Regions from separate parts of the Homo sapiens genome. Here region 2 is linked to region 1. Evidence: promoter capture Hi-C in 16 types of primary human blood cells and fetal thymus (Javierre and others, 2016). All regions are on one chromosome and are shown on one strand. Each heading gives the region's core, a stretch centred on a gene start or on the middle of the fragment in contact. The rest is flanking DNA. Distances are from core to core; before and after follow the strand shown. Region 1 holds the start of SKIL (SKI like proto-oncogene). Region 2 holds the start of ECT2 (epithelial cell transforming 2).

Region 1 (4,795 bases), core at 769-3,268:
TTATGGCTGGTAAAATGACTGCTAAACATTTATTAATAATTGCAGTTTTGGAATTACTTTTTTATTAACCAGTCATGTTGGTTTCTAAAAATTGTTACTTCTGGCTAGACACAGGAGCCAGGTGCTGAGAGTTGACCTGGTGCCAAGTTTCAGGACTGTCCAGTCTTCACATCAGATCTTCAGCTAGGCCTTCTGAATATTCTCACAGTTAGAAAATCTATCCCCCTAGACTCGCAGATGCTGTTTTTCCCCCACTGGCTCTGCACAGAACATCATTATCTTTGCCACGCTTCTGTCTCTATGGCAATAACAGATGGAAAGTGCTGTGGAATTATTCATGTTCAGGAAAGGAGGCAGTCAAGAAGGAAGAAAAGGTGGGGGGGCGGGGTGGAGAGGGGGCACGACCTGGGAGCTCGGCGGTGGAGGCCTAAGGAAGGGAACTTGGGTGGGGGTGCGGGGAGTGGTGGGGATTGAGAGGCTTGTGAGCCTTTCGGAGGCCTGTTGTGAGGAAAAAAAAAATAAAAAGTACGAGCACAAGAGTATTTCCAGCCGGCCGACTGCAAATGTGGGCCCCCACAGGAACAACCCGAAGCAGTAAAACTAGAAGAAATTGGACGAAAATGGGGGGGAAAAAAGGGACAAAGCTCGAGTCTCCTGAATTTTGTGCACTGCTACTCGGTGGACTATTTCAGTTCCTGATCTTGTGGTGGGGTGGAGAAAAGGGGATTTCTTGGTGTTTCGAAATGTGACGGAGCAGCTCTGCAGAGTTCAATATGCTAATCGGCTACCCTGGGAACCAGGAAGACCACCCTACACGCCTCAGAGGGTCACAGCCGGAAAGCTCTTGAGTCCTATCTTCCCTACCTCGTCTCGTCCCTCTCCAAAAAAACACACACACAAAAAAACACCCTCAGTAAACACTGTAAAAACCTTTAATTTATAGCTCCCTTCTGGAACCGAGAGAGCAGCCTGGTGGGGTGGAGGCAGGAGGCTGGGGAGTAGGGACAGAAATGTTTGCTCTCGGTTTTGCCGGAACTTTGGCCACCCCTCCCGCCCGGCCCGATGGCGGATGGAGGTCAGCCAGGGGAAGGCGTCTGGGTGGAGGCCGCCCGGGCGAGGCCGGGGCCGCCGGGGCGGGGCGGAGCGCCGGCAGCTGGCTGGGCGGCCCTCGGGCAGGAGGCCCCGCGGGGGCGAGGGGCAGCCCAGGAGGGAGGTCCCGCGGGGGCGGGGAGCAGAGCCGGCCCCGGGGGCCCTGCAGGGCGGCCGCCGCCCGGCTGCCTCCGGGGCGGGGCGGCCCAGCTGCGGCCCCGCAGGGGGAGGGTCGCCCGTGCCTGACCTCGGGCGGCGGCACTCTGCCGGGCGGGCACTGCCTCCGCCCTGCCGGCTGCTGGGGTCGCGCACAGTGCACCGCGCGGCTGCCCTGCCCCCTCTTCCCCGCTGCGCGGCGTCCGAGCGGCCAGGGCGCCCCCGCGTCTGGCCCATCACCACAGAGCGGCGGGTGGGGCGGGGGCGGGGCGGTGGCCCCAGACAGCCGGCTGGGCGACTAGAGGAAGGAAGGAGGGAGGGCGGCGGTGAGGGTGGGGTGGGGAGGGAACATCCTGTCTGCGCCGGGTGCACCGCAGACAGCGCCGCGCGCCAGCTTCCCAGACGGCGCGCGGGGCCAGAAGCGCCGGGCGCGCGCCTGGGGGGAGGGGCACGCGCGCGAGACGACGGGGCCAGGGGGGCGCTCTGAGGAGCCACAATAGGCCAGACGGCACGCGCGTCCACGAGGGGGCCGGGAGCCGCGAAGTGGCGGCGGCGGCGACGACGCCGGCGGGCCCGCGCGCGCGGCGCCGCCGCTGGCTCCGTTCCCTTCCCCTCCCCCTCCCCGCCGCCCTCGCTCTCCCCCGGGCGGCCGGAGACGGCGGCGGCGTCTGCGGGAAGCTGTGTGTCTCCGCAGTGACGTGGGCGGGCCGAGGACTCGGTGACGTCAGAGGGCTGTGTGTAGCGATGTGTGTGGGGTTCGGAGCCGCGCCGGCACAGCCGAAGGGAGCGGGCGAGCGGCGACGGCGGCGGCGGCGGGCACAGGTGCGGCTCCGGCTTACGGCGGCGACGCGGCGGAGGCGGCGGGAGGCCAGAGGCGCTCACCCTCCTAGGAGCCCGACGGCGGCGACAGGGGCGGTGGGGAATTCACAAAGCTCGTCGAGCTTACCCGGGCACCGAGGCCCGAGTAGGGGGTTTGGATGCGCGGGTCCCGGGTGGGGTCGGGGCCAGAGGGGGTCGCTAGGCGGGTGTTCCACGGCTGATCACGCTTCGTTGGCCCCAGGCGGTGGGCGCCGGCAGGGCAGGGCGCTGTAGTTGACGGGAGCCGCGGGGACCCCGGAGACCCGGACGCCCGTCACCGCCCCCCTCCCCCAGTCCAGCAGCGCTCCGCGGGGATGCCCTGGTCTCGACCCGGTCCGTCAGCCCCCGGCGGCGCAGGGATCCGCGCCCGGCGCCTAAACTGCCCTGGTGTCCTCTTCGTTCTGGCCCGGGGCTGGCGCGGGGAGGTGCAGCATTAGGGGCGCTGAGGTGACACCCGAGAACTTCCCAGGGAGAGGGTGCGCGGGGGGGTGGATTTCCACAGTCCTTCCCGCGGCCCCCGCGGGGGGGCGGTGTTGGGAGGGCACTTGGGGTTATCCCAGGCTCGCCGGTGGGGGTGGGGGGACTCCTCCCTTTACTTCCCTCCACCCCCTTGCACACCCACCCCCAGGCTTCCCGTGTCCCTTGTTCTCCCTCTCTCCGGGTTAGAGATAGGTGGGTGGCTTTGAGTGGGCGGAGGACTTCAGGGTTTTAGGGGCTCCCCCATTCTAGGTCATGCCTCTTGCTCTCTTCCTTGGCCTGTGTTGAGTAAGGTGTGTTCCTGTGGTGGACGAAAGTCTGTACGATGGTTGGTGGCATTGGTCCTTAATCCTTTGGGTCTGTTTTAAGGTAAAGTGCTGAGAGTTTGGGAAGCAAAAATTTCTATTTATTGGATTTCTTTTGGCTTTTCTCTCAAGAAGGAAGTGGAAAAAGAGTCTTTTCTTTTTCCCTCTTCCTCCATTTGCATTCTTTGTGAGGTTTGTCTGCCTTGTGCTTTTTGTCCCGGATTAGTCTTGTTGAAGGATGGAGATTCCCAGGCGTGGAGTCTATAGCTTTTGGCTTCCATTAAGTAAAATCGCTAACCTTTTTTTAAGAGAAAGTTAATTTTTGCCTGCAGTCATTCCAGAAAAATAGTGTACACGGACTAGCTGAATTAATCCACTTAAAATTGTAACTTAGTTACATATGGTAGATATGTTAACTCCTATCTGATTTTTTTGGATGAAACTGTTGTTTTGTTTTTAAATAGGAGATGAAGTAATGGATTTTTTTCCCTCCCTTAAAATGGCATAGCTGAGAAAGCCCCGGTACTACTAATTGAGATGATCTGCTTAAGAGTCTTCATATTCTGAACTCGAAAGGCCTTTTATGTTATATTATTGCTCGCTTTACGCAACTCCAAATTGCTTTCCTATTTAAATGAATGTTCTTCTAGTAAACTGGTGTTAGATTTAAAGAAATCACTCAAGCTTCACCTTGGTAAACTGAACTCAGTTTAAGATTAAGAAACTGATTTCGGCCGGGTGCGGTGGCTCACGCCTGTAATTCCAGCACTTTGGGAGGCCCGGGCGGGCGGATCACCTGAGGTCAGGAGTTCAAGACCAGCCTGACTAATATGGTGAAACCCCGTTTCTACTAAAAATACAAAAAAATTAGCCGGGTGTCGTGGCTTGTGCCTGTAGTCCCAGCTACTCCGGAGTCTGAGACAGGAAAATTGCTTGAACCCGGGAGGCGGAGGTTGCAGTATGCCGAGATCGCTGCACTTCAGCCTGGGCGACAGAGCGAGACTCCGTAAAAAAAAGAAAAAAAAAAAAATAAAAGAAACTGGTTTCAAATTGGCCCTTTGGCCTCTGGAGCAAATTCAAATGTAACTCTTCCCCAACCCCCCTTCTCTTCTTCCAGATTAATTAAAAGAAGAATGAACTATAATCCTTGAAGATAACTGGGCAATTTTTTAAGTCGGAGGCTGTTCTTACTGGTGTGAGGATTTACACACGTCTTCAGTTTTTCAGCACAGACCAGCAGACCATCATTTTTAGAGGAAATACTCCCTCTGCCCTCCTTTTTGGTTTCCTTGGTGGTAAAGATTAAATTTGGTTGCATCATTTTGACTTGTGTTTGAGTCTAGATTTTATGGCACAAGGAATGGCATAAACTTTTCATGTGTTTTGGTTAAAACAAACCAGACCATTGCATTGACCCTGGACATCTTTAATTGAGAAATTGGTAACTTTATTTTAATATGTATATCTGAAGAATTCAAGAAAACAAAGGCATCCTCAGAGGTGTGCCTCTTTTCTTTATTATTAGAGGCAAAACGAACAATTTTATAGGATTTGTAGTGAAATTATACCAGATTATAAGGAGAACCAAAACTAAGTCGCAAAATTTATTAATTTAAGGGGCTCTCGCTTTGAAAGTTTGAGAGTAAGTTACGATAGGCATTTGTATCCATTCATTACTTTCCTCTTTTCAAATAAGCAACTAAATAGAAATGCTAATCTCAGACTTAATTATTTAACAGAAGAGTGTACCATGGAAAACCTCCAGACAAATTTCTCCTTGGTTCAGGGCTCAACTAAAAAACTGAATGGGATGGGAGATGATGGCAGCCCCCCAGCGAAAAAAATGATAACGGACATTCATGCAAATGGAAAAACGATAAACAAGGTGCCAACAGTTAAGAAGGAACACT
Region 2 (4,672 bases), core at 871-3,370, 2.4 Mb after region 1:
TATTTTACTTTTTATTTTTTATTTTTTGAGATGAAGTCTCGCTCTGTCGCCCAAGCTGGAGTGCAGTGGCGCAATCTCTGCTCACTGCAAGCTCCGCCTCCCGGGTTCACGCCATTCTCCTGCCTCGGCCTCCCGAGTAGCTGGGACTACAGGCGCGTGCCACCACGCCCGGCTAATTTTTTTGTATTTTTAGTAGAGACAGGATTTCACCATGTTAGCCAGGATGGTCTCGATCTCCTGACCTCGTGATCCGCCCGCCTGGGCCTTCCAAAGGCATGTAATCTCATGCCTGGGATTACAGGCATGAGCCACTGCACCTGGCCAGCATTTATTTTTTTTTGAGATGGGGGCTGGATGGTGGGGGGGAGGGGCGGTCTTGCTCTATCGCCCAGGATGGAGTGCAGTCACTACCTAGGCTGGTCTTGAACTCCCGGCTTCAAGGGATCCTCCTGCCTTAGTCTCCCAAAGTGCTGGAATTATAGGCATGAGCCCCCACACCTAGCCTAACCTAGCGTATGTCAGTTGTCTTCCACTGTCCTCTTCATGTATATTATGATCCAGCCACACCAAACTGTTTACTGTCTCCTATATATATTGAGCTTTTATGAGAGCCTAAAGTGCACGTAAACAAGCTAATATTAAGAATTTATGTTTTTAAAAAAGTTCAAGGTTAATATGCCATTCAGTTCAATTGCCTATGCCGTATATAGTATTTAAAAATTTTTCATAATGCTGATCTTGAAACACTATAGCACTTGAAACAGCTTCTGACTCAGTAAGACTAAGTTACTTGTATCATTGTTTTGTAGGTATTTGAATTCTGTGAAAACCTATGCATGCAATAAATTTTTCACCGCAAATACAGCTATCTGCTAGAAGTGCCATGAGAACAAGGCCCATATTTGTCTTGTCACACCTATATTCTCAGTGCTAGCATAGTACCTAATGGGTGCTTAATAGTTATTAAATGAATAAACTATGATTAGGTTAATCAGGACATCCAGTCTCTCAAACATTATGAATGAACTTGGATCTAGCTCATTCACTCTCGAAATATTTATTTGGTACCTACATGTGAAGATTCCTGTGTTTATTAGAGAGCAATGTGTAACATTTGCCTTTGCAGTACTAGCTTTTTGAAAATACCTGAAGATGAGGGATCATGTTTTACTTTACCAGACACCAGCCCTCTGCTAGGTGCAATTAAGTGGCATATGATCACCTATGCACACGATTATCTGAAATACTCCTCTCCACATTGCTTTCTTTGAGCCTGCAGACAGATCTATACTAGACTTTATTTACACTCATCTATTATTTCTGGGTTCTAATGCGGGCTAAAATATTTATTAGGAGACACTGGGTAAGTTACTTAAACCTTTCCTACAGTTTCATGGTATCATGGGACTATGATACCTACTTGTGGGTTGTTTTAAGGATTAAATAAGGTATAAAGTGCATAGTAAAGTATCAGTATGTTCATTCTCTTTCTTCTCTCCCTTATACTGTAATTATCTGTTTATCTGCTAATTTCCCTCACCAGATTGTGTGGTCCAGACAGGCAGTTTTCTATGCCTTATTCATCTTTATAACCCCAACAAGCACAATGGCTGTCTTAAAATTAGTAAATATTTGCTGAGTAAATGAAGACCTAAGAGAGTGAAAAAGGTTGTATTACCCGTTTATTTGTTAATCTAACTGCCACACATCCCTTAAAAGAAATCAAGTACAGCTTTTGTTAGGGAAGCTTAAAATTCATGGCAATGATACCATACACAGTTAATCATTAGCTTTGGAAAGTCTGTTGAGCAGAAAGCGGTGCACAAAGGAAGTAGGGCTGCTTCCCACAATAGCTTAATATGTTTTCAGTGATGAACGTTTTTGGAATGCTGGGCACACCCGACTTCCAAATACGCAAGCACATTCCAAATGGAAATTTCAATTACTGTTTTTCTTTTTTTCTGCCGTAACAGTTATCACAGCATTTTAATGAAGGTCAGACTTAAATACTGACAAGCAGGGAAACCAATAATTACCAGATTGCTTCATTCATTTTGTGGACAGCATTATAAACTTTTCAGGCATTCTAAGATTGCCTGACAAAATTAGAAAAAATTGTTAAGTCCCCACAACCTGCTTGAGATGCTCACAAGTGTTCCATCCCAAAGTACACGTTTGCCTCTTCTTATTGGTATTTAGGTTCTGGCATCTGATTCCCCTTTCTTCTTCTATTTATATTAGCCTTCAGGTGGGAACTATGGAAAACCCACCTGGTGGGGGTGTATTTTTCTTAAGAGATTGTGTTATATGGTATCATATTTAGAAAATAAAGAAATTATTTTCATAATAGCAACGCTAATCACAGGAAAAACTTGATACATTCTTGACTAGACTTTAGGGGAAAGTACAAGTTCTTAGTGGGCGGAGGGGGGCAAAGACGAAGCAATTTGGCTCCAAAAATTCTAGAATCTCGTGGCATATTTTTATCAAATTCAAGCTTATCTTTAAAAAAATCCGAGAATTTTTCTAATTTCTAAGAATTGATTCTAACCCGCGATACTCCCTAGATGGGAGCGCAGTGCTTTAAATAATAGCATTTAAATAAGCGGCTGCTGATTTGAAGTCCACCTGGGGAGTCCGAGTTCTAGGACCGGTCCTTGGCCCTGCCACACGCCAATACAACCATCAAAGTCAAAATCCCTTAACTCAAATTTAAATACATTCCTAAAGCAGAAAGCATCCCGATAGGAAAATCCTACAGCTCACAGCAAGCAGCAGGGAAACATTTATCTCTGGCGGCACTGATTTAAGCTTAAAAGATTTGGTATCGTTTAAAAAAAAAAAAAAGCTGGGTGGGGCCGAGGAGAATCCACCCAAACTTTCCTCAGGAAGTAGGATGTTTACTGAGTAAATATGCGGTAGTCACAGAAACACCTGCTACTCCTTTAAGACCTCAGGAGCCACCACCGCCACCTCCTGGCCACATCCGGGCACTTCTCTGCAAACTCCTGGCGTCCCGACGCCCGAGTCGTTGGGCTTATTTGAAACACACGCACAACCAATCAAGCGGCGCCTGCCGGGACTTGGAGAGCGTCGACCAATCACCGCCCCTCTGGAGACTCCTGCCTATGGGAAAGAGGTTGACATCACGCGCCAATCGGCATGGCTCTTAGAGAGAGCAGCTTAGTTTTTGAATCGGTTGTGGCGGCCGCCGGCGAGGAATGGCGGTATTTGTGAGAGGAGTCGGCGTTTGAAGAGGTGGAACTCCTAGGGCTTTTTTGAGAGTGGTAAGGACTCTGTGTGAGTGAGAGAGGTGCAAGTGGGCGAGCGGCTCCAGAGCCAAGGGCTCTTTTGCCTGCGGTCGACGTCCCCGCCCCTAGTGACCGCGAATTCCGGAGCGCCCCAGCTCAGGCTTCCCGGATCCGGGAACTCCCTCGCCGCACCCCACCCCCAGCAGCCGGGCCCTGACGCGGAGTGGGAGACCGAAGCCCCCAGTATTGCTGGGCATCTTCGCCCTCACCTGTTGGCTCTTTTGGACAGAAGAGTGTGGGTGAAGGGAGGGAGTTGGGAAAGGGATTTTGGCAAGCCGCGCAGCCCTGTGGCTTTGGGGGCCGGCACTTGCAGCCTTTGGGGGCTTATCTCAGAGTGCGCCGTGGTTTTATTCTAGGATTCATCCTGGCTTCTTTGCGGGAAGTTTAATTTTTCGTTTTTGCAAGATAAATCCAGGCCATCCGCCCCTCGTCCTCCCCAGCCACCCGGCACAGATGTGTCCGGCTTAGTGGTTAAAGGCGCAGCCTCTGGATTTAGCCGGGCTTTGAATACCTCTTTTACCCCTTACTAACAGTTTGACTTAGGGGAAGTTGCTTAACCTCTCTGTTCCTACGTTTCTTCATCCATACATTGAAAATAATAATAGTACCTGCCTCTTAGGATTACTGCAGAGATTAAAAGGTTTAGGACAATGTCTGCCACGTATTAAGCGTTAAGTAAATGTCAGTTGTTAATAGTAATGTTATTGTTAATAACACCACCATTATATCTTGGATTGCATTTTAGTCCTTCACCTTGGAAGATGATTGCCTAAAAAGTATTTAAGTAAAAGGAAACTTGAATGTTTGTTTACATGGCAAATTTTATCTCTGGGATAAAAGGGGGCATGTGTTATAGTGTGTTTAGTTAGAAGCTCCTTGGGTCTGTTCTTGGGTGAGAAGCTGTGTAGGTTTATGAACACTGATCCTATTGTGCTTATTTTAAAGGCTTCTGGAATACAGTAATTTGAAAAAAAGTGATTAATATATTTCCATTTCTAATCTGACTGTTGGATGTTAGTTATGTCATCAAGTTACCGTAGTGCATCTCTTTTTCTCTATACATTTTGAAGCTGTTTTGGCAATAAATTGATCATATACAGTATCATCAGGGGCAATTTTAATTATTAATCATCTGCTTTCGATCATCTGCTATGCTCCCTCCCTTTTATTAATCATCTGCTTTTGATCATTTGCTGTGCTCCCTCTTAAAGAGGGAGGCATAGGAGAAAAATGTAAATATTTTCAAGAAGTTTTTTTTTTTTTTTTAGACGGAGTCTACCTCTTGTTACCTAGACTGGAGTGCAGTGGCACGATCTCGGCTCACTGCAACCTCTGCCTCCCGGGTTCAAGCGATTCTCCTG

The links. Contacts are between HindIII fragments. The CHiCAGO score rates a contact against its expected background, and 5 or more counts as called.
Region 2: a contact is called between a fragment that was not itself captured here and the fragment with the promoter of SKIL in region 1, in 1 of 17 cell types (fetal thymus). The highest score is 5.2, in fetal thymus.

Annotation. Positions count from the first base shown.
Region 1 is chr3:170,355,697-170,360,491 of GRCh38, forward strand. SKIL (SKI like proto-oncogene) reads left to right here and starts at 2,019. Exons shown (of 7, transcript NM_005414.5): 1 at 2,019-2,067; 2 at 4,003-4,795. The coding sequence starts at 4,636. RefSeq lists an enhancer at 592-691 and silencers at 972-1,871, 2,032-2,261, 2,312-2,441, 2,532-2,601. The HindIII fragment of the contact is 9,771 bases long and covers 1-3,567 here.
Region 2 is chr3:172,747,571-172,752,242 of GRCh38, forward strand. ECT2 (epithelial cell transforming 2) reads left to right here and starts at 3,156. Exons shown (of 25, transcript NM_001258315.2): 1 at 3,156-3,287. RefSeq lists enhancers at 2,692-2,961, 3,062-3,111, 3,132-3,391 and a silencer at 3,502-3,571. The HindIII fragment of the contact is 750 bases long and covers 1,746-2,495 here.